Regions from separate parts of the Homo sapiens genome. Here all the other regions are linked to region 1. The links are contacts of gene promoters, found by promoter capture Hi-C in blood cells and fetal thymus (Javierre and others, 2016). All regions are on one chromosome and are shown on one strand. Each heading gives the region's core, a stretch centred on a gene start or on the middle of the fragment in contact. The rest is flanking DNA. Distances are from core to core; before and after follow the strand shown. Region 1 holds the start of WASL (WASP like actin nucleation promoting factor). Region 2 overlaps POT1-AS1 (POT1 antisense RNA 1). Region 3 overlaps POT1 (protection of telomeres 1). Region 4 overlaps POT1 (protection of telomeres 1). Region 5 overlaps POT1 (protection of telomeres 1). Region 6 has its middle 2.6 kb from the start of GPR37. Region 7 overlaps POT1 (protection of telomeres 1).

Region 1 (3,970 bases), core at 376-2,875:
CTAAATTCCGAAATATGAAACACATCTGAAATTGAATGGAACGATTCAATCTCCAACCGGATGGCACAAGATACAAAGGGTGGACTCCTATGAAGTTAACAATGAATCCAATAACTTTCCAGAAATTGTCTAATCCTAACTTCTTAAAGAAGCAGGTGAAATCTGGTTTGGCATACCTAATATTACTTAAAGGAGTTATAAAATGGTATTGCTTTGTTGAAATTTCCGTGTTTTCTGGGTTCCAGTGGCACATACTCTGCAGGTGCTAGCAAAGTGGAGAGAAAGGGATCCAGCCAGTATTTCAACAAACCACACTTCAACCCAGTCACCGCAGTATGATCCCGACAAGGCCTACACCACAGAGCAGAACCTCCCCACCCCCAGAATTGCCAGCAGCCAATGTAATGAATGCTTCCGTCAACAACACACATTCCCCTTCCCACAGCAGAACTGCTCGCTCCCAACCGGCCATCTGGGGTTGGAATTGGCCGCACAGCACCAAACTAAGAATCATTCTCGGCCCCAAAAGCCAAGAGCTACCAGAGATTGAGGTTTCCCTGCGCATGGCTGCGGGGAGAGCAGCACCCCCTCCCACCAATGGGGGGAAAAAAAAAATCAGTGGGAAGGAGAGTAGAAACCAGGCCTAGGCAAGGTTGCTAGAGAAATAAATCTTGTTTCTCTTTAACGAAGAGCAATAACATTTCTTGCACCCTCTCTAATCCGAAGAGAGCCCAGGCTCTTGCACTCGACTTCATTCCCTCCTGGAATCCTAATGGGAGATTAAAAACCACCTTCCTTCCCCGACCTATCCACTCCTCAAACCTGGCATTGTTAAGGAACGTACCCCCAGATCAAGCAGTAAGAGGTGAAGCGAGAGCTAGAACAAGGGCCCAGATTCTAGGACCAAGCGGCTCTTGCAAGAAAATCCCCTTGTGGCCTGAGAATAAAGTTTTAACCAGCAGCAAGGGCGCGGGCCGAGGCCCGGCCAGGCTGGAGGACAGGCCTGCGGAGGTGACACTCCCTTATTCTCCAGCAGCTCGGGAAGGCGGCGCCCGACCGCCACGGCCCGCACCCTGGGAGCAGGGCGAGGGCGCCGACGAGGGGCCGGGGCCGGGGCCGGGGCTGGCGGGAGGCCTGGCCCGCGCCGCTCCCGCCTCCTTCCCCACTCCCACTTCCCGGCCCCCAAGCCCGGGCCCGTGAGGTAATGTCACGGGTGGCGACGCGGGTCTCGTCCACTGACCACACATTTCTTGCCGAGGAAAGTGAAGAGGGACTCGTTCTCCTGCGGGGTGAGCAACAGGGACCCCACGTTGGTGACCCTCCGCGGCGGCGGCGGCTGCTGCTGGACGGAGCTCATGGTTTCGCCGGCGGGGTTGGGAGTCCAGGGCCGTCTCCTCCGGCGAGTGGGCGAGAGCTCGTTCCCCCTCTCGGTGACAGGGGCGGGGAGAAGTGGAGTCAGAGGCGCCACATCTCGCAGCTCCTCCGGAGCGGGGAGGAGGACGAGGTCGAGGGAAGCAGGCGCTGACGGCGAGCCACCTTCGCGCCGCGCTGAGAAAGGGAAGCTCCCGGCACCCGCCCGGCCAGGCTAGGGCCGGATGGTCGTTGTCCTCGCACTCCGGCGACTGCGCTAAACTCCCAACTCCTCCCCCAACCCTCCCGCAGCGGCGGCGGCGGCCGCACAATCCAACATGGCAGCGGGGGCGGGCGAGACCACAGGACGGAGGGCGCGGGGGAGCGCGCCGGAAACGCGCGGCTGCGGCCCGGGAGAAACCCCCCCACTCGGCGGCGGGCCTCGCGGCGCGGGCCCGAAGCCACGCCCCCTTCCGGCCGAGGCGCGGACCGCGCGGAGCTAAGTGGAATCCCGGTTGGCTTGGGGCGCAGGCTTCCAACTTCGTACTCTGGCCTCTGGCGTCTCGGCTCGTCGGTTGGGTACCCGAACCCAGCTACTGCTGCTTGAAGAGAAGATGGATGGGGACTCCTCGCCGTCGCTGCGCCGCCGGCCTTCCCTGGGCGGACGTACACCTTTGCGAAGCGTCAGTGAGGACCCAGGGCCCCTCCTTGGAATAGCTCTTATTTCTCAAGCGCTGCAGCGTGAAGCTCGCTCTGCGGGTCCGAGAGGCCTGCGATCTGAAGACTGAAAACTGGGAAGAGACGCTCTACCCTGTGCTCCTCGCCGGCTTCGATAGGAGCCGCAGGTGCCTGGGATTTTCTCAAACTTTGTCCCAAACTTCAGCTGTGGGAGTGGAGGAACAAACAGGCCTCTCCCAGAATTGTGAAAGAGATCGCCCTGGTGGATGAAACAAAAACAAATGCACTTGACTTCCACCGCCTGCCTGGCGTGTCACGCGGGTTTAATGTATGTGTCACATTTAAATTCAAAGTATTTTCTTCTAAGGGCCTGGACACATTTCTTTTCTCCCTGTATCGTGAATTGGAAAATACCTTAGGATATTAAAAGTTATCTAAGATAACCCCCTTTCTTCTGTAAGTTAAATACTAAACGGCTTAAGACGAAATTTTGGAATATAGAGATGATGATGCAGACTGCAGTGAATTATCAAATATGCATCTCACTGTTCTCCACATTAAACATATTTTTGTTGCGTAAATTCATGTTAAGACGTCTATAACAATTACACTTTGGTAAAATTGTTGGATGTTAACATCTCTGATAGCTCCCAATAGAAATCTCTGATGTACTAACCAGACTGGTAAACCATTATCATGCACTTTGAAAATATAATAAAATATTATAATTAAAGCTGCCATTAATGAAATAGGCTGAGCAACAATAAATTTACAAAGGAAAATAAAAGTGGATAGCCTTGGGAGTTCTCACATAAAATATGGAGATTTCAAAGTTAAACTTGATTAATTATGTTAGGGTAAAAAGTGAATTAAAGCAACAGGACTATTTATAAAATAATTAGATTTAGAAAGCAGTCGTAGAAATATAAGCCTGGAGTTGCCTCTGAATTACATATTTAACAAACCTAGAAGCTAAATCAGTTTGTCTTTTATCAAAACTGCAACTCCTCTAAGTTGAAAGCACAGTGACAAGAGAAAGCATTACAAATTCTTGAGAAATAATAGAAATTAAAGCTCTTTTCAAACCTGTGAACAAGTATAGTACCAGAAGTATAAGATTCAGATAGGCCCAAGTTGTAGTTCTTGTTATGAGTCTTACAACCCTATGGACTTTGGACAAATTACTTCTCTGCGTCTGTTTCCTCATCTGTAAAATGAAAATAATTTCTGTTTCATACAGGTATAGTCTAAATAGGGATAATTACACCTACTTCAAAGTTGTAAAATACACAATTACAACTAGATAGGAGGTATAAGTTCTAGTGTTCTGTAGCACTGTAGGATGACTATAGTTAACAATATTGTATAGTTTCAAATAGCTAGAAGAAGGATATTGCATGTTCCCAAAACAAAGACATAAGTTTTTGAGATGATAGATATGCTAATTACCCTAATCACTATATGTTATATGTATTGCAACATCACTATGTACCCCCATAAATATGTACAGTTATTGTGTATTAAAATTTTTTTAAACTAAAATTATAAGACATTAAAAAAAGGTATCACATGTAAAGTACCTGATACATAGTGGTTACTCAAGTATTAGTTGTCGGCCATTGACAGTCCTTGCCTATGGTCTTTTCTGCTTTCCCTGAGCTAAGGGATCAAGACTTAATATATGTATTCTTACCTTTGTTCTAATTCTGACTCTTCAAAAACTGTCCTTCAAATATACAATTGTACATATTTTTTCAAAAATATAGTGAAGAACTTGATAGCAGAATTTCTGATTAGGCCATATATTATATCAAATAGGCTACATATATCCCAGTATGCCAAAATAAAACTTTTTAAAACTGTAAATCCAGAGATAGAATCCTATTAGCTTCTAATTTAATAAAAACTGAAAGATTAGCAAATTTTATGTTAGAAATACCAG
Region 2 (3,867 bases), core at 65-2,564, 1.2 Mb after region 1:
GTTAATGTCTACATGTAAAATTGAATTGCCTAACATGTCCAGCACTTCAAATTCATTTCCTTTGCATTAATTGTGGGGTGATTAACCCATTCCTGTTTGCAGTCCATCTGTCCTGCAAGCTGTTATCATCAGGTTGCATCTCTAGAGCCTGACAATATCATCTTCTTACTCCTGAGATTTTCTAGGAATAATAGCTAGGCTACATTAGTTGGAGTTCATTTCCTTGTGTCTAATATTCTTTCTGCCCAATCCTAATGAACATCTAAATGGATTTGTAAAATCCTATTTCAATAAAGCATCAAATTTTTATATTGTTATGTAGCTGAGCCAGGAGATAAATCAAACATAATTTTTTCTCAAATGTATGTTTAAGTTACAAATTTAAATGGTAAAGCATGTAATCACTCAGTGCATACTAGGAAGCAAAATAAAGATATTTTTAAAACATAATATTAGGTACCACAAATTGAGAAAACATTATTATCCATTGAAGAGGTCTCTCAAAAGCTTTTGTACTTTAATAATAAATCTTTTTAATTTATTATTTAAAATATCCTAGGCCAGGCACAGTGGCTCACACCTGTAATCCCAGCACTTTGGGACGCCGAACCAGGCAGATCACAAGATCAGGAGTTCGAGACCAACCTGGCCAACATAGTGAAAACCTGTCTCTACAGAAAATACAAAAAATTAGCCAGGTGTGGTGGCGGGCACCTGTAATCCCAGCTACTCGGGAGGCTGAGACAGGACAATCACTTGAACCCAGGAGGTGGAGGTTGCAGTGAGCTGAGATCACACCATTGCACTCCAGCCCGGGAAACAGTGCGAGACTCCGTCTCAAAAAAAAAAAAAAAAAATCCTCATCAGTTAAAAAATTGTCTTTCCTTCAGTTGCTACTCATTTTAAGAATTGTTGGGCCAGGTATGGTGGCTCTCGCCTATAATCCCAGCACTTTGGGAGACCGAGGCGGGTGGATTACCTGAGGTCAGGAGTTCAAGACCAGCCTGGCCAACATGGTGAATCCCCATCTCTACTAAAAATACGAAAAAAATTAGCTGGGCCTGGTGGCACACCCCTGTAATCCCAGCTACTCTGGAGGCTGAGGCAGGAAAATTGGTTGAGCCCAGGAGGCAGAGGTTACTGTGAGTCGAGATCGTGCCACTGCACTCCAGCCTGGCCGACAGAGCAAGATTCTGTCTCAAAAAAAAAAAAAAAAAGAATTGTCCAAGGAAAAAAATAACCTATATTCAAATTTTAATTATAAACTATAAGTAGGTCAATATATTATACTGTATTGATCCATATGAATGAATTACAAATACGAACTTTCTCTTGTTGAAAGACTATAAGAAATGTATGACTTCCCAAAAAATATAAATAAATGTTTCCTCATATAACTCATGTATAACATTTTCTCTTTCTTTCTTTCTTTCTTTCTTTTTTTTTTTTTTTGAGACAGGGTCTTACTCTGTTGCCCTGGCTGGCATACAGTAGGAAGATCCTAGCTCTCACTGTATCCTCGGTCTCCCAGACTCAAGCGATCCTCCCACTTCAGCCTCTTGAGTAGCTGGGACTATAGGCAGGCAACACTGTGCTCCGCTAATTATTTTTAGCAGACGTGAAGTCTCACTGTGCTTCCCAGGCTGGTCACAAACTTCGGGTTCAAGTGACCCTCCCACCTTGGCCTCCCAAAATGCTGGGATTACAGACGTGAGCCACCATTTCTGATAACATGTTTTTAATATGTTTAAAAAAAGGCAATATGTAAACTTAATGAATATTCAGGGAACATTTACCAAGTATCTGAAATTGAGCAGGGCCATCTAACAATAAGTTAAACACAACCAGGCATGGCCCTGGCTGATTTGGATCTTGCAGTGGAGACAGAATATCTTTTTAAAATTCAGATAAACCAATGCAAAATTTCGATTATGATGTGAGATACAGAGAATAGTCATGGTGCTAGGAAAGTATATAATGGAAGAAGCTGACCTAGATAGAAAGGTCACATTAGGTCTTCCTGAGAAGTAAGAATTAAGCAGAGATGAAAATACAGCAATATAATCAAGGCAAATTTTAGTTACCTGTAGTACATTTCAGTCCTATAAAAATATATGGCTTCAAGCTTAAAAAACTATGGGCTAATCAAAACATATATTTTTTTCTTAAATACTCTCTAAACCCTGTATTCAGCCTTAATTTTGCTCTTCAGGTGAAACTCATCACTTCTTTTGCTATCCCTAGACTGCCACAGATATAACCCTCATACAGGCAATGATTTTATGTGATCATGCTCAGATATTAGACACAAAAAAATAGAGTGTGACTGGTGAAACTGGCTCACATTAAACAAACTCACATTGATATTTTTAAAAAAACCTGGTAATACAAATGTATTAAATTCCAACCAAATGTTTTAAATTATTAGCTATATATCTGGAATATGGCATTATGTTAATATCAGTACTTATGAGGAACCAAATTATAAACACTTGGTTGTTGGGAAAGCATGGAATTTCAACATAGAAAATTTTTTGGATGATCCTACAACCTAACATAATCAAGTCATGTGAGTTTCATGTCAAGTCTACTGGAGAAATATATGTGGATGTTCACATTTGTGGTCAGGGCACCATCTCCCCTGAATGTTTGCCTCTCAGATGATCTCTTTTCTAGGCATGTAATTAACCTTCTTCAGATGTGTCCTGTTTTCTTTTTTATTTTCTTTCTGTGCCTTGATTTGGATTAGAAATAAATTACAGCTATGGCTCCGGTAATATTTACAAGTGTTTGGCTATGCCATGTTCTTTCCCTTAGTTGTCTAACAATTTGTAAAATTCAAGACTCTGTATAATCACTGTAATCTCTCTAGTGATTCTGAAAAGACAGGGATCTTTTTCTTTAAATTTTCTAATCTATGGCATATAATTTTATTTTTATAGATATATATTCACCTCTTTCTAAGCACAGAGTAAGCCTTCAAGGCTTGTCAGTGAATTAGATGTTCTGCTGCTAAAAGTCAGCCTGAGCACCCTCAAGACTCAGAGTTGGCTGTTTCCTGAGAATAAATAAAAGGCCATGGCTCATCTCAGTGCCATAACACGAATGGGCACTTTCTTCTTCCAGCTCGCTTTCTTCCAGATCAGAGGATTCTTATAAGAATTTATGTGTTTTGTTGGGGAAAAAAATCATTTATCTAAAGTTTAATCATCCCTTCAGTTTTACTTAAACTGTTTTCTCTTTTGATTAATTCAAATAAAATTTAAATTAATACTTTTAATTTAAAATATCATCTATGATTCTTTTATTTTAAATTAATTCTGTCTTTCTGGCCAGTAGCTTAATTCTGATTCTATGTATTATACAGAGATATCTGAAATGATATTCATAAAATGTTCACACTGGTTATTGTTGAATGAATAATTTAAATGACTAGCTGCTTTTTTTTTAATTAAAGGTTTTTTTCACTACTTTTATCACTTAGCCACATGACTAAAAATAACTAAACCAAAAGTTTTTTGAAAGACTCGTATTTAAGCATCCTCTAGTGGTAAAATTATCTGATAACCATATATACAACATTTTGCATGTTTATGCAGTTCACGCTCCACTAACAGCTGCCTTCCAAACACAGAAGTCTGTATATGTAGCCATGTTGATATTATGCACTTGATCCTGTTCCATCCTGACTATAGGCTGCACTGAGATAATCACCTGATCACTTGACTCCTGAGGCAGCCAATCTATTACCTGGATGGAGCCAGTTAGAATCTGTCTCTTAAGAACCCAGTAAATTGGGCCAGGCACAATGGCTCACACCTGTAATGCCAGAACTTTGGGAGGCCGAGGTGGGTGGATCACGAGGTC
Region 3 (3,796 bases), core at 327-2,826, 1.1 Mb after region 1:
AGGGGAACTGAATTTTAGGCTTCAAAAGGTCTCAATAGGTTAAAACTGTGAACTAAAACTAAGAAAGATGAACTTAGCACCTACTCCCAGGAACCATAAAAACAAAGATATTACATTAAGAATAGAACGAAGAGACCAAGTTCAAGAAGTTCATGTGACAGAAAAAAAAATTACATTAAGAATAGAATGAGAAGACCAAGTTCAAGAAGTTCATGTGACAGGACCCTAGGATTTCACTGGACCACAAATAAAACATGAGATGGCTGTATCAAAAAGGAAAGAAAACAAAACCAAGTGTACAAATAAATAGCTATACAATGACATTTCAGGCTAGTAGAAGCTGAGTGTCCAGTTTCAGGTAAATAATAATTTCACTCTATTCTGAATTGGCCAAACAACATCTGCAGCACAATGTCCAGCTCTGAATGCCAAATTCTGAGAAAAGCACTGGTAAAGTGGAATGCTTACTGAGGAGGAAAAACAAAATAGTAAGGCATAGGGGAAAGTATGTGACGGTGCCTGCTTGAAGAAATACAGACTAAAGGAAGGCTTGGCAGATATCTTTAAATTTACAAAGTCTGTTTATCTTACAGAGGAAGGAATAAGTATACAAAGAAGGAACAGGTATACTTTCAGGTATACTGAAATATAAGTAGGTGAAATAACCTTGTAAACAAACAGTTAAAATTGCAGGGCATGGAAATTTAGCTAACCTTCTGCCACAGAAGAAGGAATCCACGATGTTTTATCAACCAGGGAATTTAGATTTTGTATGGATCTCAAACTAGAACACTGTTTACATCTGAAATTTATAAAAGAAAGAACCATAAATATTTAAAAATAATTTAGCTTGTTTGTTATAACTTTTTACTGCTCAAACATGTGTAGTTTTAAAATATAAATTATTAAACAGAAGAATACTGCATCCCCTATATTGTAATGTGCTTGTTTGTTTCACAAGAGAATTATGAAAGAGTAAGCTTATTACATAAGGGCAATAAAAAAGACAGTATAAGATTCAGAATAAACAACTCTAAATTGAGAACAGGGTGCTCGGTTCCAGGTCCAAATCATTAATTAATTTTGCTCTCAATTTCCTTATTTGTTAAAATGAAAAGTTGAAGAAAATGATCATCTCTAAGAATTCTCTGATTCTATGATCTATATCTATATCTATATCTATATCTATATATATATATTTTTTAAGACAAGGTCTCACTCTGTCACCCAGGCACTGTCACCTCTGCCTCCTGGGCTCAAGTGAGCCTCCCACCTCAGCCTTCCAAGTAGCTAGAACCACAGTTGCACACCACCATGCCTGGGTGATTTTTGTAATTTTATAGAGACAGGGTCTTGCCACAATGCCCAGGCTGGTCTCAACTCCTGAGCTCAAGCCATCTGCCTGCCTTGGCCTCCCAAAGTACTGGGATTACAGGTGTGAGCCACCATACCTGGCCTCTGTAAGTAATATCTTAATAAATTCAAAGTGTTAATAAATATGGCCAATAGAGAAAAATTACTAAACAGTCACAACATGCAAGATTCTAGATAATTAATATTTTTAGTAAGCACATATCCAGAGGTTTGTAGTTTATGATGCCTAATTCCATAGTTAACTTTTGAAATGTATATAAATCTAAGACTACACAATACACTAAAGTTGTGCATTGTGTAGTACAGTTATTTTGCTTTACTTGAATACCAACATATTTTAACTATGAGTAATTTATTTTTTATTATGCATCATCATAATGTTTATGAGATGTTGATAAGAAAATATACTTGAAAAGATATACTTGAATAAAAATAAAAGTTCGAAAGGTCCATGCAATTTGTTTTCATTTGCACTTTGAGGAAAACAAGAGGGTAACCACATTACATCTTATACCCTTCTATTTATTAAATATATAGGTGTTTCTTTTCTAATAAAAGATGTCAATTTAACAAAAGAATATTATTGCCTAAGAAAAAGACTACGATATTGATTAGCATTAGACATTATTAAAGTTAGTATAAAAATTAAAAATTAAGGATATTAAGTCAAAATTAAATACAGAACTACTTACTTCCAAAGCAGTGAAAGGGGAAACAGAAAAAATTAGAAACATAAACTAAATATATCAATAACTTAAGAACATATTTAAACTCCACTATTAAAACTAAAATTTAGCCATAAGCTTTTATTTATGAGTGACATACAAATTAGAATGCCAGAAACTTGAAAGCAAAGGGATGAGAGTAACCTATAAAGCAATTACCAAACAAAAATTTTAAAAAAACCTATAAAACACAAGAAACCATAAAGTTAAAAAGGCATGGAATACACTAGAAGTATGGATGAAACTGACAAAGATTAGTATCTCTAACACGGAAAGAAACCTTACAATCAATTACATGTATGTGCGCTCACACATGAACCAACAAAGAAATCAGTAACCACATAGAAAAACAGGCAAAAGATGTGAACATGGAATTCATAGAGTAGGAAACCTATGTAGCTGATAAACACGGGGGCTGCTTAAACACACTAGACATCTAGGAAATACAAATAAAAACATTATGGATACCATCTGATGCTCGCTGGCCTGACAAAATTACAAAATTAATGCCAAGTATCAGACAGAAATAGACTAATACCAAGTGTTGGAGTGAACTTGGTAGAAACTAAAATTTTATACATTACTGATGGGACCATATATTGTTAAAACCATGGGAAGAACAATTTGGTATTTCTTCCCATAAAGCAAAACTTATATACACCTTATAATCCAGTAATTCTAATTTCAGGTAAACACCTTAGGAGTAACTTTCAAACATTTTTGTTAAGGACTCACAGTAAGAAATTCATTTAATATCATATCTTAGTAATACATACATACACATACAATTGAAATGAAAGTTTAGGAAACAACACTGACCCTTACTGTGTAAAATGTTCTCTATTATCCATTCCCTCTCATTCCATTTTTTACTACAACCACATCATATAATTTAAAAAAAAACTGTTTATGACCCACTGAACTCATTTTATGACAAGGGAAATAGACAAGAAAACATATAACGTGACTTCATTATGGTCTGTAAATGAAACAAAAAATAACACATATCCATTAATAGGAAAATAGGCTAATAAATTCTGATATTTCATAACATACTCCAAAGATGTTAAATAATCTAAATCTACATGCGTCAATAGTGGTAAATCTTGAAAATTTTAATGAATCAAAAAAAGCAAGCTGCAAAAGGCTTGGCATAGTACGAAACAGTTTATATAAATTTAAAAAATGAAAAATATGCCATACTGCTTAAGAGTTCACACATATAATGAAGGCATAAAAACATTGATGAGAAGGATTTAATCCAAGTTTGGAAAAGTAGCTACCTCTGAGAAAAAAGAGTTAGAGAAGGGATTGATATGGCATTATACTACTTCTCTGTAACATTTAATTTCTTAAAAATAAAAAAAAAAAAAAAAAAAAAAAGTTTGGAGGCCAAGGTAGGCAGATTGCTTGAACTCCAGAGTTCAAGAACAGCCTGGGCAACATGGCAAAACCCCATCCCTACAAAAATTAGCCAGGTGTGGTGGTGTGCACCTGTAGTCCCAGCTAGTTGGGAGGCTGAGATAGTAGGATTGCTTGAGCCCAGGATGTCAAGGCTACAATGAGCTGAAATCATGCCACTTCAGCCTGGGTATCAGAATGACACTGTCTCCAAAAAAAAAAAAAAAAAAAAAAGTCTGAAATAATGTCAAAACGTTACGATTTGTTAAATCTAAATGGTGGATACGTAATTGTTG
Region 4 (3,518 bases), core at 736-3,235, 1.1 Mb after region 1:
GGGTAATGTGGAAAATGTAGAAGAATGTAAAGGAGAAAAAGAGTCACACTGCCATAAGCTCAGACTAAATATTCCTGAGTCAAGTGCTTTATACAATAAAAACAAACCAAAATGATCTTGAAAAACACTCATATGTATTAAAATATTTTTGCACATAAATACAACTAGTAAAATTATGAATGCTCTAAAAATTATAATAGTAATACATTTGACATTAATCAAATTATTTTTATGAGATTCAGTCTCATTCTTAAATTAGTTGTAAAGCATTATTCTGATGTTTCCATACAAAGAAGTAAATGTTGTAAATTTGAATAATTTCCTTTATATGATGATTTTCTGGTTCACATTATGCTTTTTCTTCTCCAAACCGTATTACAGGTGAGACATACAAATTACCCACCAGCTCTGGCTATAAATGACGCCTGGTTATTTATATAAAAAAAAAAAACCATAAAACAAAACACACAAAAGATAAGGCCGCACCAATACTGTAGATATTAAAACAAATAGAATATATACATTTAGAGAAAACTCAATTTGAGAGTATTGCTCAGAAAAAAAAAACATATAATATTAACAGAATAGAGAAAAATATGGAATGATGTCAGATCAACAAATTTATTAAATTATATTTAATGCAAACGATTGGTATACCACGGCTACTGAAAAATTAAAATAAATGCACTGTGGTTAGTAAAAAAGGTACCAATATTAATATTGTGCCCAGGTTGAGATGGAAAATGATTATACTATTTTGTATGTAACCAGACATTATATCGAGTAATGTCTAGCTCCTCTGTTATTAAAAAATATAATTTAAAAATTATTTCTGATACATAAGAAAATCACTGTCCGGAAAAAAAAAATCACTCATATTTCCCAGAGTTGAAAACAGTAAAATGTTGCTTTATAGGCCTCCCAATATATTTTTGCTATGTACATATACATTTTTAGTGTGTAAATGAAACTACAGTAATCACTAAATAGACCATCATGAAATTCTATCTCAACAAGTGTATGTCTATAATGTCATTTTATGGTTACAAAGTATTTTATGGTGACATTTACAATGTTATTTTATGGTCATCCTACATAAATAGTGTACACAATTCTCTATTGTTAGTATTTGTTTTTTTCTAATTTTTCTACTGTATTCTCATTTTTTATACTGTAAGAAAGATAAATATATTCTTTTAAATGCACCTTTGTAAATATTTTAAATTATTTCCTTAAGATAATGAAAATAAAATTGCTGAGTTGAAGGGTACAAAAAGACTTTTGAGGCTTATTCTTAAATTGTTGTAAGAAAGGCTTTTACTAATTCTTTTCTTTAAATTTTGCTTGAAGTTTTGGGATACATGTGCAGAATGTGCAGGTTTGTTACATAGGTATACACGTGCCATAGTGGTTTGCTGTACCCATCAACCCGTCATCTACGTTAGGTATTTCTCCTAACGCTATCTCTCCCCCAGCCCCCTACCCCACAACAGGCCCCATTGTGTGATGTTCCCCTCCCTGTCTCCATGTGTTCTCATTGTTCAACTCCCACTTATGAGTGAGAACATGCGGTGTTTGGTTTTCCGTTCTTGTGTTAGTTGGCTGAGAATGATGGTTTCTAGCTTCGTCCATGTCCTTGCAAAGGATATGAACTTATCCTTTCTTTGGCTGCATAGTATTCCAGGGTGTATATGTGCCACATTTTCTTAATCCAGTCTACCATTCGTGGGCATTTGGGTTGGTTCCCAGTCTTTGCTAATGTGAATAGTGCCACAATAAACATACGTGTGCATGTGTCTTTATAGGAGAATGATTTATAATCCTTTGGGTATATACCCAGTAATGGGATTGCAGTGTTAAACAGTATTTCTGGTTTTAGATCCTTCAGGAATCGCCACACTGTCTTCCACAATGGCTGAACTAATTTACACTCCCACCAACAGTGTAAAAGCGCTCCTTTTTCTCCACATCCTCTCCAGCATGTTGTTTCCTGACTTTTTAACGATTGCCATTCTAACTGGCGTGAGATGGTATCTCATTGTGGTTTTGATTTACATTTCTGTAATGACCAGTGATTATGAACTTCTTTTCATATGTCTGTTAGCCACATAAATGTCTTCTTTTGAGAAGTGTCTGTTCATATCCTTTGCCCACATTTTAATGGGGTTGTTTTTTCTTGTAAATTAGTTTAAGTTTCTTGTAGATTCTGGATATTAGCCCTTTGTCAGATGGACAGATTGCAAAAATTTTCTCCCATTCTGTAGGTTGGCCTGTTCACTCTGATGATAGTTTCTCTTGCTGTGCAGAAGCTCTTTAACTTTGTCAATTTTGGCTTTTGTCAATTTTGGCTTTTGTTGCCATTGCTTTTATTGTTTTAGTCATAAAGTCTTTGCCCATGCCTATGTCCTGAATGGTATTGCCTAGGTTTTCTTCTAGGGTTTTTATGGTTTTAGGGCTTATGTTTAAGTCTTTAATCTATCTTGAATTAATTTTTGTATAAGGTGTAAGGAAGGGGTCTACTTTCAGTTTACTGCATATGGCTAGCCAGTCTTCCCAACACCACTTATTAAATAGGGAATCCTTTCCCCATTGCTTGTTTTTGTCAGGTTTGTCAAAGATCAGATGATTGTAGATGTGTGGCGTTATTTCTGAGGCCTCTGTTCCGTTCCACTGGTCCATATATCTGCTTTGGTAGCAGTACAATGCTTTTTTGGTTACTGTAGCCTTGTAGTACAGGTTGAAGTCAGGTAGCATGATGCCTCTAGCTTTGTTCTTTTTGCTTAGGATTGTCTTGGCTATATGGGCTCTTTTTTGACTTTTCAATATTGTATTTTAAACTAACAGTTACGTGACAGTGGTTTTCACTTGTCCAAAAAAGTTATCTGTTACAATGGGATGCAGGTATGTGCTGTGTTTCTGCAGAGAGAAAATGTAGACTCAACTATTTCAGCTAAAAGTTGGCACATTTTATCTTAGAATTTAAGAATTTTCTAAAAACACAGTCAAAAGATAGAATATGCCTCAGTGCATAGTAGTAGAGTCCTTGTCATAGGAAGTGTTCAGTTGTTAGCAAATGCTCATTTGTTAAGAATGTCACTTTTGCCAGAGTATGACTGGTTGACCTAGATTCGCTCTAAGTTTGTTTGATTTTATATTGCTTTAGCTTCAGCTTTATCATATTTGACTTATTTAACTTTCTGCAGGGCATGTATTTACGACTTTCTCATAATATTCCATGTGTATATGAGTGTGCTATTTTCAACTGCTAGAACTTTGTATTTTATTCAATGATTTCTAACTTCTCTGTTTTTTAATATGGGCAAGGTGTAAATCATAATAATGCTAAACTCCATGACTTGTCCAAGTGCCACTGCATTCCATTTCTTGCCCTATTATTCCAAAGATAGTATAGAGAGAAATAACCATAGGAGCAGGCCTGAAGAGGCATTTGTTCAAATGTATCCTCCATAGGATGTCCAGGCAAGAAAAACATCAAACATCCAGCTTCTCCAGAAGTT
Region 5 (3,761 bases), core at 1,165-3,664, 1.2 Mb after region 1:
GTGCAGTGATTGACAGAAAATGTTTCTCTATAAAAATGTATTTCATGAGCATTTGCATGTACTGGGTTGAGTAATACCAAGGTCATAATTGGAAGTAATGTATGTGAATAATATTAGCATTAAAAACCAAAATTCTTAAATTGCCTACAAATCACTGTATGATTTGACCCCTACCCACCTCATCAGCCACATCAGCCACATATTGTGTGACTCACTCTGGTATTCTGTCTTCTCAAAATTCATTAAATATTCCAAGATGCTTGCTCAAGGCCTCTGTATATGCTATTCTCTCTTTGCAATCTATAACCCAAGTATCCCTGTGATCATTTTTCCATTACTCTTCTCATTCTACTATTCAATATTCATAGTTACATATCATATCTGGATAAAATAATTATGTAATAATTGTTTAATTCTTCTCCAGGGGACACTATGCTCTATGAGGGCAAGGTCCATGACTGTCTTATTCACTGCTATATCTCCAACATCTATCATAGAATACAAAAACATTTAACAAATGTTTGGACAACTAAATAAATAATCAAAGATATTAACATTCATACATATATAGATAGTATACCTTCACGAATCTTAAAATAAAATAAACTGTACAACTGCTACAAAACTTACTTCATAGACTGTTAGCATTTTAGAACTTAAAAGGACCTTAGAGACCATGTAATCAAACATCTTCATTTTTCAGATAAGGGAGAATAAATAAATGATCTAAGGTCACATACAGTTAATTAGCTATGAACCAAGACAAGAAGCCAAATCTCCTGACTTTCAAGACAGGCACCACTCTAATTCCTCTTTCAGAACTAACTCTAACAGGGATACAGGGAGAAAAAAGGTATTAATAAGTGTCTTTATTTTTGACAGTTTTGGGGTAATTTTTTTTAACTTTCAGAATACTTTGGAAAAGTCTTTCCTCATATTTTATGTCCACATATTAAATGTTAAAACTGACTTTAAAATATGAAAACTAAAACAAAAAATGTCTCATACAGAGGAAGGCTTAATTACAGCTTGTGTATTTCTGCAAAATATATCACATTAGTCTACCAAAGCAAGGATTAAAATCTTGTTAAAATTCATTTTAGTGTTTTAGGATTATTGTATTCAAATACAACGCTACCCTTAAGCAAACAAGCAAATGGCAAAGAAGGGTTTAAGAATCAAATTGGAGAAAACTCATTCCTTTAAGCAAAAAGTTTTACCTTTGGGTTGGAACAATCTTCAACCTTGATACTTTAATAAATTGGTATATTAGACCCTCAAATAATCAGCATTTCTGGGTTTTAAATCCAGAAATAATTTAAAGTAAATGTGACCTCAGTCTTCACATCATTATATTTTAAAAGCAAGAAACCTTGACTTACCATTATTAACAACCTCTGTTATCTGACAGGTACTAATTAACTAGTGTAGTTCTATTCTATTTTAATGAATACCTATTTAAAATGTATTTCAATAGCAGAAAACACTTCACATGTCAGGTAAAACACTAATACCTAATGTAATGTACATGTTTTGTAGATGTACTATACATGTTTTGTTAATTCATAGCATAACCCTTTTATACTGTTTCTCAAATAAACATTTAATATAAAAATCTTAAAGGATAAAGGTGAAATATATTTAAAATATAAACAAATTGATCTCTGATATTCGATAGCATGTATTTATTTTTAAAACACATCTCTAAAATATCCAAGATATATTAGGTAAAAATAAAGCAACCTTGCAAAAAACAGATAGTTACTTGGTGAAAAATATGCACATACAGGCTTATCCATGCCCACAGACACACACAAAAGCATGTGCACATATATAGACACACATATAAAAAACCTGGAAGGGTACTAAAAAAAGCATAGCAGTGTTTTTTACCTGAAGAATGGGACTAGGAAATGGCAAGGGATTCAGTGGGAATGAGGGAACTTTTGCTTTTCAGTTTATAGCCTGCCATACTGTCTGAATGTTTTTAAATCATGACTACACAAAAACAACAAAATCTTCTCAGACAAATATTTGCAAGATTGTCAAGTCCATAATACTACCATGAGGTAAGAAAAAAAAGGTGTGGAGATAGAGCGGTTTCTCTACTTATTCTAAGTCCTTTAACAAATGTTAGCCTTAGAGGGTTATCTTCATAATAAAAGTGCTTATCACCATCATCACAGAGGGCTAACAGTTAATACTTAAATGAAAAACATATACGAAGACACTTTGCAATCTGTAAGATTTCATACAAATATAATATTATTAGTTAAATTTTAATTCTGAAAAAAACTGGTTAAATGTTAAAAATTGGCTATAATAAACGTTTGAAAAAGAAACAGTGGTTTTTACTATCTAATGGCTCTTTAAATATAGACCTTATTTGCTATTGAACTATGTAAAATAAACAAAGGATAGGAAAAGAAACAGAAAAATAAGTTATTTAATCTCCTTACCTCACAAGAAATTAGAATTTGCATCTCTTTACATCATACCTCAAAACATCTAAAATGTTAACTAGAAAAACCCTTTAAGTTATGAATTCCCAACAAACATAAACACACATAGGTGTGTAATACAGACAGGTATACAATCAGACACACCCTAAGAGTCATGAGAAAAAGCATAACACATTGATACACTCAAATACATTTTTAAATGTATTCATACAAATATAATGTACACACACCTCTCTCAGAGCAACTCTACCTACATTTACCCCAACACTATTTTCTGTATTATGTTAAAACAAATGTTTCAAAAATTCTTTAGTGAATGAGATTTTGTATTCATATTTGCACCTGACATTTATTTAACATTCATAAATGCAAAATTTTTATAAGCTACCAACACTGAATTCTTAATAATTTAGAAATGTCATCTCAAATATTAATAATTTTAACTAAGCTGAAATAAAGTCTTGCCTTCAAGAGGAAGAATAATACAAATAACAGTAATGACAGCAGACCTTTACTGGGGCCACCAACTAACAAAAGCACCTTATCAAAATAGATATTTACAAAGGGATTCATTTGGAGCAATTAATTCCTATCTGACATCGCCTCAAGCAGGCATGATTGTGTGTATGTGCACTCACGCTTTTTTCTGTTTTATTTCCTAGTGTCCTTCCCTGATGACTGTCAAGAGACTTCTTTGTAGTATATTTGTCTCTAGAATTTTTGTGCCACATCGACTAGATTAGAACTATATTTCAATCAATATTTTAAAAATTTTATCAGCAATCAATCTCAGAGAAATGGTCCGATGATTTGTTCTATGAGCTTTAGGACATGAACTGTATGGCAAATGCATTACTTCCCTAAATTCTAAAGCAAGGTTTTAAGATATACCGCTGATTAGTAACAGCATTGCAGATGGAAAACTAACACGACACTGATTTTCCTTTTCTTTGTTCAAAGTAGAAGTGAGAAAAAAATTAACTGATTTAACAGTTCTTCACAGCAACTTGAGCAAAAAAGATAAAATCTGAGTTTGACAATGTATCACAAAATTCTTGTAACAAGGAAATAAAAGCAGATGTTCTAACAGCTTGCTTGAAATGGATCTTTATTCCAGACCCCACAGGTTTTACAAAAATGGTACCATTTCTCAAGGGCATTGAATTATTTAAACCACCACAATTTCTGCAACTACTGTATGTCATAGCTATTCAGAATTCTCAGCTAATCCAAAACCCTTATTTTATATTTGATTAAATTTGAATCTGGCAACATTCAATGTTACTCAAGGGCCAATAA
Region 6 (4,084 bases), core at 1,130-3,629, 1.0 Mb after region 1:
CGCATGCCCAGGTCTCAGCTCTGGGGGGCGAGGGGCGGGGCGGGGGAGGGGCGGACGGGGGTTGGGCCGCGGGGAGTAAGAAGGTGAAACCTCACCTCCTCAGGTATTCCCTAGAGATAGGAGAGAATGGGAGCTCAGAGGTGTCAGTCATAGAGAATTACCAGTTCCAGGATTGAGATGCAGAGCGAGAAAGCTCAGGATGCACCATTACCTTTAACACTGAGTTGGGAAGCATCCTACCATGGGTTACTTCGTACCACCCAGAGCATAGTGAGGTAGTTGTATTTGATGAAGTAGTGGGAAATGACTGGAGGCAGAAAATTACTCGAACAGCACTCCCAGCACGGCTGTCCATGCCTTTCCAACCTTTCTACTATATCCCACAACCCTGTCAAAACTGTCAGGGCATAGCTAATAAAATAGACAAATTAATGAAGAGAAAATGATAGAGGAAGAAATAAACACATTCTGAATTTTTTTTTTAAACAGAGTCTTGCTGTGTCGCCCAGGCTGGAGTGCAGTGGTGCGATCTCGACTCACTGCAACCTCCGCCTCCCCGGGTTCAAGCGATTCTCCTGCCTCAGCCTCCCAAGTAGCTGAGACTACAGGCACCCGCCACCATGCCCGGCTAATTTTTTTTGTATTTTTAGCAGAGACGGGGTTTCACTATGTTGGCCAGGCTGGTCTTGAGCTCCTGACCTCGTGATCCGCCCGCCTCGGCCTCCCAAAGCGCTGGCATTACAGGCGTGAGCCATCACACCCGGCCTGAATTTTTTTAAAGCAACACATCTAGAGAGGCAGGAGAAAACACAATGGAACATATGATACCAATTGTGGTAAATAGAATAATGCCCCCCCAAAAAAATGTCCGAATCCTAATTCCTAATACCTGTGAGTATGTTACCTTACAGAGCAAAAGGGATTTTGCCAATGCAATTCAGCTAAGACTCTTGAGATGGGGAGAGTATCGTGATTATCCAGGTGGGTACACTATAATCACAAGAGCCCTTACAAATGAGAGGCAGGAGGGTCAGAGTAAAAACAAACACAAGCCAAGTGATGTGGGCAATCTCTGGAAGCTAGAATGGGCATAAAAAAGGATCTACTAGCCCATTTGAGACTTCTGACCTCCATAACTGTAAGATAATGAATGTGTGTTGTTTTAAGCCACAAAATTTATGGTTATTTGTTGCAGTAGCAATAGTAAACTAATACACCATTAAATCTAAAAATGGAGACAACAGGAATAATTGTATAGAAAAACATAAACTACCAAAAATAGTTCAAGAAGAAAATTTTCAGAAACTGTAATCGAACTATAACATTAAAGAAATCAAATCATTCATCAAGATCTACCCAGAGGAAAGTGCTAGACCTTAGCATATCCTGCGGAATAAATATACATTTATACAAAATGTTTTAAAGCTACTCAGTTCATTTTGTGAAGGCAGAATAACCTTAATGTCAAAATCAGACAAAGCCAGAAATAGGAAAAAATATAAGCTAATAGCACACATTCATTTGTACATTAATTCATTCATTTATATACACTAACTCATTCTCTCAAATTCACTACTTCATTAAAGAAATATTCTGCTCAAGTTACTTAGGTCAGAGCAGTGAATAAAATAAAGTTCTGCTCTCACTGAATTTATATTTTCTTGTATACTCATAAAAAGGACAAACTAGGCTTATGTGTATCACCAAGACTGAATCTCAGAAACATAAATGTAAGGGAAAAACGTAGAACTTGATGTGTTAACTATATAATGCTACCATTTGTGTAGCTCTTAAAATGCACATAAAACAATTTGATAATCATACATGGTGTATCATATAAAATATGTGAATGGAATAAATACAGATCAACTTCAGAATATTAGTCACCTCAGGAAATAGAAGAATGGTCATGGGATGGAAGGAAGCTTCTACTCTAACTGTAGTATCTTGTTTCTTTAAAAAAAATTTAGAAGAGGGAAATCTGGATTAATAATGAAACAGGAAAAATAAGTTGCCAAAATGAAACAGTGATATAGCTTCCCTTCTCATCTCATTAGCTTAGAGTTTAAGTTACACATGTAAGATATGTTTCTATCCTTTTTACTCTAGACCACATAAATGTGTCACTAATCTCTATCACTACACAGAAAGGAATCAAAGCTAAACAGGGAAAAATCCCTTTACCTGCTCCCTTAGAAGCTCCATTGTAATTCACACATGCTTGGCCCAGAGTTGGGCATCATTCTTAAAGTGGTGGGCTATAGAACTCAGGTACCATGCTTGGAGAGTGGCTGGGGAAAGGCCTGAAGGAGGAGCTACCTGTGTTTGTCTGTGGTGGTATCTCATTCATGAGTGGTCCCTTCCTTAACCTGAACAATGATGCCTACCTACTTGGATGGTTGCCAAGTTCTGGTTCTCTAACTTATTCGGACCATGAATAAAACCAAAGAGCTCCAGCTACTCTATTGGAGCCCAGGTCAATATCAATTATTTATAAAATTGTGTTTCCAAAAATATCAATTATTTATATTTTTGGAAACACAATTTTCTCATCTGTATAATAAGGATACTAATACCTACTCTCAGCTCTGCTCACCCAAGTTGTTATGTGGATTAGGTAGATATGAAAAGACTACATAAAGTATAAAATATTTATTACTGTTGCTCTTGGTAGTTCAACTTTGTTTTTAGTGAAATTTAAATGCTGTCAAAAACACATAATCCTTGAAAAAGAATATGCTTGGTAAATAAAAGTGTAAAGTAATAGGTTTATAAGAAAATTTAGAATGCATTCCCTGCAAAAAGAAAAACACACATCTTCAAATATTTTTCCAAAGCTTAGCTCAGCTGTAACTATAAATTTTAAATGGAAATAGTCACATCTCATTCATTTGTGTAGATTCTACTTTAGAAATATAGATCAGAAAAGGAATTAGCTAATCATTGTCTGGTTTACATCTGAGGCCATTTATCTGTACAAAGAAAACTGATTTGAACATGGATTTTTTTTCCTGTGTCAGCATTTCACAAGGTTTATAATACATACTATTGATTTTTTTAATAAAAAAAGAACATGTAAATTATTACCTGCCTTGGCATTTTTATAAAATCTATTACACTTCATTTGGTGTTTGGTGTGCTGAAATAACACACATCACAGAATGAGAGAAATTACTATTTCAAGTTTTAAGATACATCGTTGAACAGAAGCTTTACCCAGCACACAATTCACTTATCAAATAATTTTCTTTCTTTTTTGCCTCAGATAATTCAAAAGGGTCATTTTTTCTGAAAGAAACTGTAACATACCACCAATAGATTATTATTTTCTGAAATTCAAAATTTGTCTGTTTTCCAAATAGTTTGTGGTTGCAGCCTTTCTGTCACTGAATTATTAATTGTTAGTTTGGAAGCCTCCATTGATCACCTTCATTAATCACCTCTCTCTTTTGCCATATATAAGAGCCAAATTATCATTAACGGGTGGGAAATGGCACTGCTTGGAATATAATATCAATATGGTTATGTCTACCTTAAAAATCAAATATCAAAATTAAAGTACTTAAAATTTAAAATAAAACAACAATAATCAAAATAGTCTTTTATTTATTCCAGACAAAAATGTAGACATTGGGCTACATAAAATATGTTTGAACCATACTTGGACCAGCACACTAATTGCATAGCCAAGTCCTTTGGGTTTTGTTGGATTCGGTTTGTTGTTGTTGTTGTTGTTGTTTGTAAAGAAACTTGAATGCAAAAGGGTGAAACTGAAGATGAATTAACACAAGCATAACCAAACATTCTCAACCTTTCATAATTCTTTATAGAAATAAATGCTTGTGAAATGCACCCCTACCTTTTGATCAACATCCTTTTTGAAGCAAAGATAATTTGGATACTTAGTTGGCCCTCAGCCAATAGCAATGTAGCAGGAGATCAGACCATCTCAGGCTTCAGCCTCTCATGACTTCTCAAATTGTGTATTTTCCCTAGCAAGCACATTAATTGTAAATCTTCCAAAAATCATAGTAAGCTGAACTTTTTAACAATTATCCAAAATAAATGTGATATAAAGATACAT
Region 7 (3,777 bases), core at 164-2,663, 1.1 Mb after region 1:
TTTTCGTTTACATGTTTGTTAAAACCTTACATTATCATATAGCAATTAATAGGTTATACATTTTTACTTTACTTTTAAAACTATCCAAATATATATACACCTCTGTATCAGTTCATATATATGTATATATGTATATAAAATCATGGCCAGGGCCAGTGCCAGGAAACCTTTCCCCTGTTTTATTCCAGAACATTCAGTTTCAGGTCATACTCTTAAGTCTTTAATCCACATTGAATTGATTTTTTTGTGTAGGATCTAAGGATCCAATTTCTTTGCATGTGGATATACAGTTTTCCCAGCCCCATTTGGTGAAGAGACTATACTTTCCCCATTATATATTCTTGCACCCTTGTCGAAAATCAGTTGACCATAATAAACGTGTGGGCTTATTTCTAGGCGCTCTATTCAATTCCATTAATCAGTATGTCTGGCTTCATGGCAGTACCATACTGTCGCAATACTGTTACTTTTTAACGTATTTTGAAATTAGAAAGAGAGAAGCCTCCAGGTTTGATCTTTCTCAGGATTCTTTTGGCTATTCAGGGTCCTTTGTGTTTCCATATGAATTTGAAGATTGATTTTTATTTTTCTATAGAAAATGCTACTTGGATTTTGATAGGGAATACATTGAATCTGAGATGACTGAGTAGTATGACCATGTTAATAAAGGCATAACTCATGTAATTGTACTTTACTTTGTTGTACTTTGTAATACTGCAATTTTATAAATTAAAGGTTGTGGCAACTCTGCATTGAGCAAGTCTACTGTCACCATTTTTGCAACAGTATGTGCGTCTATGTTACATTTTGGTAATCCTCACAATACTTCAGACTTTCCCATTTTCACTGTATCTGTTATGGTGATCTGTGATCAGTGATCTTTGGCATTACTATTATAATTGTTTTGGGGTAGCACAAATCACACCCATATAAGACAGTGTACTTAACCAATAAATATGTGTATTCTAACTCCCCCATCAACCTGTCATTCCCCTCTCCCTCTCCTGAGGCTCCTTATTCTCTGAAACACAACAATATTGAAATTAGATGACTTGATAACCCTATAATGGCCTATAAGTGTTCAAGTGAGAGAGTCACATGTCTCTCACTTTAAATCAAAAGTTACAAATGATGAAGCTTAGGAAGGCATATATCCAAAGCTGAGATACACTGAAAACTAGGACTCTTGTGCCCAGTTAGCCAAGTTGTGAATACAAAGAAAAAGCTCCTGAAGGAAATTAAAGGTGCTACTTTAGTGAACACATGAATGAGAAGAAAGTCAAAGAGCCTTATGGCTGATACACAGAAAATTTTAGTCGTCTGCATAGATGATCAAACCAGTACAACATTCCCTTAAGCCAAAGCCTAAAGTAGAATGAGGCACTAACTCTCTTCAATTCTTTAAAGGCCAAGAGAGGTGGGAAGGCTAGAGAAGACAAATCTGAAGCTATCACATTGGTTCATGGCATTTCAGAAAAGAAGCCATCTTCATAAGATAAAGTACAAGGTGAAACAGCAAGTAGCAAGTGCTGATGAAGAAGATGGAGCAAGTTATCCAGAAGACCTAAGATCATCAACGAAGGTGGCTACACAAACCAACACATTTTCAATGTAAACCAAACAGTCTTCTCTTGGAACAAGGTGCCATCTAGGACCTTCACAACTATGGAGAAGTCAATGCCTGCCTTCAAAGCTTCAAAAAACAGGTTCACTCTCTTGTGAGAGTCTAATGCAGTTGATGACTTTCAGTTGAAGCCAATACTCACTTAGTCTCAAAATCCTAGGGCCTTTCAAAATTAGCAAAACCAACTCTGCCTGTGCTCTTTAATGAAACAACAAAGCCTGGATGACATTGCTCACAGCATGGCTTTCTGAATACTTTAAGCCCAACGTTGAGACGTACTGCTCAGCAAAAAAGATTCTTTTCAAAATATTACTGCTCATTGACAGTGCACCTAGTCACACAAGAGCTCTGATGGAGATGTTCAAGATCAATGTTATTTTCATGCCTGCTAATACAATATCCATTCTGCAGCCCACAAATCAAGTAATAATTTTTACTTTTAAGTGTCATTATTTAAAAAAAATACCTTTTATAAGGCTATACCCACCATAGATAGCAATCCTTCTGATGGACTGCGGCAAAGTAAATTAAAAACCTAGAAAGTATTTATTCTAGATGACATCAAGAACATGCATGATTCATGTGAGGTCAAAATCCAACATCAACAGGGGTTTGGAAAAAGTTAATTCCAACCCTCACAGATGACTTTGAGGGGTTCAAGACTTTGGTGGAATTAAGTCACTGCAGATGTGGTGGAAACAGTAAGAAAACTAGAATTATAAATGGAGCCTGAAATTGTGACTGAATTGGTGCAATCTCATAATAAAACTTCAACAGATGAAGAGTTGCTTCTTATGGATGAGGAAAGATAGTTTCTTAAGAAGTAATCTACTCCTGGTAAAGGTGTTATGAATATTTTTGATATGACAACAAAAGACTTAGAATATTCCATAAACTTAGTTGATAATGCAGCAGCAGGGTTGACAAGGACTAAAATTTTGAAATAAGTTCTACTGTGAATAAAATACTATCAAACAGCATCTCATGTTACAAAGAAATCTTTTGTAAAAGGAAGAGTCAATTGATATGAGAAACTTCAGTATTGTCTTATTTTAATAAACTGTCACAGCTACACCAGTCTTCAGAAAACTCCATCCTGACCAATCAACCTATCATCTCCACCAGCAAAACGATGATAACTCGCTGAAGGCTCAACTTATCCTTAGCATTTTTTAGCAATACTGTATTTATCATCAAGGTGCATACATTTTTTAATGTAAACTAGTACAAACACTATAAAAAACAGCATGGAGTTTCCTTAATTGCTCAAGAGTGTATTGTTTAATATCCACACATCTAAATTTTATAATTTTCCTCCTGCTATTGATTTCTAGTTTGATTTTATTGAAGTCAGAAAAGATCTTGCTATTTTAAATTTATTCACTTGTTTTGTGACCTAACGAGTTATGTATACTGGAGAATGTTCCATGTGCACTTAAGAAAAATGTATACTCTGTTGTAGCTGGGTAGAATATTCTGCATATGTCTGATACGTCTGTTAGGTCCATTTGGTCTACAGTGTTGTTCAAGTTTTCTGTTTCCTTATTGATCTCTGTCTGGATGGTCTCCCCCATTATTGGAAGTGGTGAAATGAAACCTCCTACTATAATTGTGTTGCTGTCTATTTCTCCCTTCACTTCTGAAATGTCTGCTTCATGGATTAAGCGCTCTGATGTTAGCAGCATACATAATTGTTATATTTTCTTGGTGAATTAACCCTTTTATCATTATGTGATATCCAAAAACTGCCTGTTGTGACAGTTTTTGACTTAAAGTCTCTTTTGTCTGATGTAAGTATGGCCACTTCTCCTCTTTTGGTTACCATTGGCAAGAAGTATCTTTCTCCATTCCTTCACTTTCATTTAGCCTATGTGTGTCCTTAAATCTAAGGTGAGTTTTTGTAGACAGCATATAGTTGTATCTCGTTTTTTTTAATGCACTCAGCTACTCTATGATTTTTTATTAGGTAATTTAATTCATTTATAATAATAGTAGTTATTCATTAGGAAGGTCTTACGATTGCCATTTAATTCACTGTTTTCTATCTGTCTTGTGACACTCAATTCCCTATTTTCTTCTCTTGCTATCTTCCTTTGTGTTTCATTATTTTGTAATGACATGCTTTGATTCCCTTCTCATTTTCTTTTGTGTAT

The links. The method cuts DNA at HindIII sites, captures the fragments that hold promoters and counts their contacts. A CHiCAGO score of 5 or more calls a contact.
Region 2: a fragment that was not itself captured here is called in contact with the fragment with the promoter of WASL in region 1 in 7 of 17 cell types (non-activated CD4 T cells, activated CD4 T cells, total B cells and 4 more); the score reaches 13.5 in non-activated CD4 T cells.
Region 3: a contact is called between a fragment that was not itself captured here and the fragment with the promoter of WASL in region 1, in 2 of 17 cell types (M1 macrophages and M0 macrophages). The highest score is 6.3, in M1 macrophages.
Region 4: a contact is called between a fragment that was not itself captured here and the fragment with the promoter of WASL in region 1, in 3 of 17 cell types (naive CD4 T cells, M0 macrophages and total B cells). The highest score is 6.9, in naive CD4 T cells.
Region 5: a fragment that was not itself captured here is called in contact with the fragment with the promoter of WASL in region 1 in 1 of 17 cell types (total CD4 T cells); the score reaches 7.3 in total CD4 T cells.
Region 6: a contact is called between a fragment that was not itself captured here and the fragment with the promoter of WASL in region 1, in 1 of 17 cell types (erythroblasts). The highest score is 6.0, in erythroblasts.
Region 7: a fragment that was not itself captured here is called in contact with the fragment with the promoter of WASL in region 1 in 1 of 17 cell types (naive CD8 T cells); the score reaches 7.3 in naive CD8 T cells.

What each region holds. Positions count from the first base shown.
Region 1 is chr7:123,747,378-123,751,347 of GRCh38, forward strand. It overlaps WASL (WASP like actin nucleation promoting factor), which reads right to left and starts at 1,626. Exons shown (of 11, transcript NM_003941.4): 1 at 1,241-1,626. The coding sequence starts at 1,357. WASL-DT (WASL divergent transcript) reads left to right here and starts at 1,818. Exons shown (of 1, transcript NR_170281.1): 1 at 1,818-3,604. RefSeq lists enhancers at 547-596, 1,356-2,010 and silencers at 1,039-1,128, 1,589-1,908. The HindIII fragment of the contact is 6,394 bases long and covers 1-3,970 here.
Region 2 is chr7:124,932,499-124,936,365 of GRCh38, forward strand. All of the region lies in intron 1 of POT1-AS1 (POT1 antisense RNA 1), which reads left to right. Among named protein-coding and RNA genes, the nearest start is that of POT1-AS1, 4.6 kb to the left of the region's middle. The HindIII fragment of the contact is 1,618 bases long and covers 506-2,123 here.
Region 3 is chr7:124,828,541-124,832,336 of GRCh38, forward strand. It overlaps POT1 (protection of telomeres 1), which reads right to left. Exons shown (of 19, transcript NM_015450.3): 16 at 714-802. Among named protein-coding and RNA genes, the nearest start is that of LINC03043, 40 kb to the left of the region's middle. The HindIII fragment of the contact is 1,197 bases long and covers 979-2,175 here.
Region 4 is chr7:124,859,284-124,862,801 of GRCh38, forward strand. All of the region lies in intron 8 of POT1 (protection of telomeres 1), which reads right to left. Among named protein-coding and RNA genes, the nearest start is that of POT1, 69 kb to the right of the region's middle. The HindIII fragment of the contact is 5,300 bases long and covers 1-3,518 here.
Region 5 is chr7:124,908,250-124,912,010 of GRCh38, forward strand. All of the region lies in intron 3 of POT1 (protection of telomeres 1), which reads right to left. Among named protein-coding and RNA genes, the nearest start is that of POT1, 20 kb to the right of the region's middle. The HindIII fragment of the contact is 5,639 bases long and covers 1-3,761 here.
Region 6 is chr7:124,766,323-124,770,406 of GRCh38, forward strand. No RefSeq gene overlaps it. Among named protein-coding and RNA genes, the nearest start is that of GPR37, 2.6 kb to the left of the region's middle. The HindIII fragment of the contact is 912 bases long and covers 1,924-2,835 here.
Region 7 is chr7:124,887,902-124,891,678 of GRCh38, forward strand. All of the region lies in intron 6 of POT1 (protection of telomeres 1), which reads right to left. Among named protein-coding and RNA genes, the nearest start is that of POT1, 40 kb to the right of the region's middle. The HindIII fragment of the contact is 556 bases long and covers 1,136-1,691 here.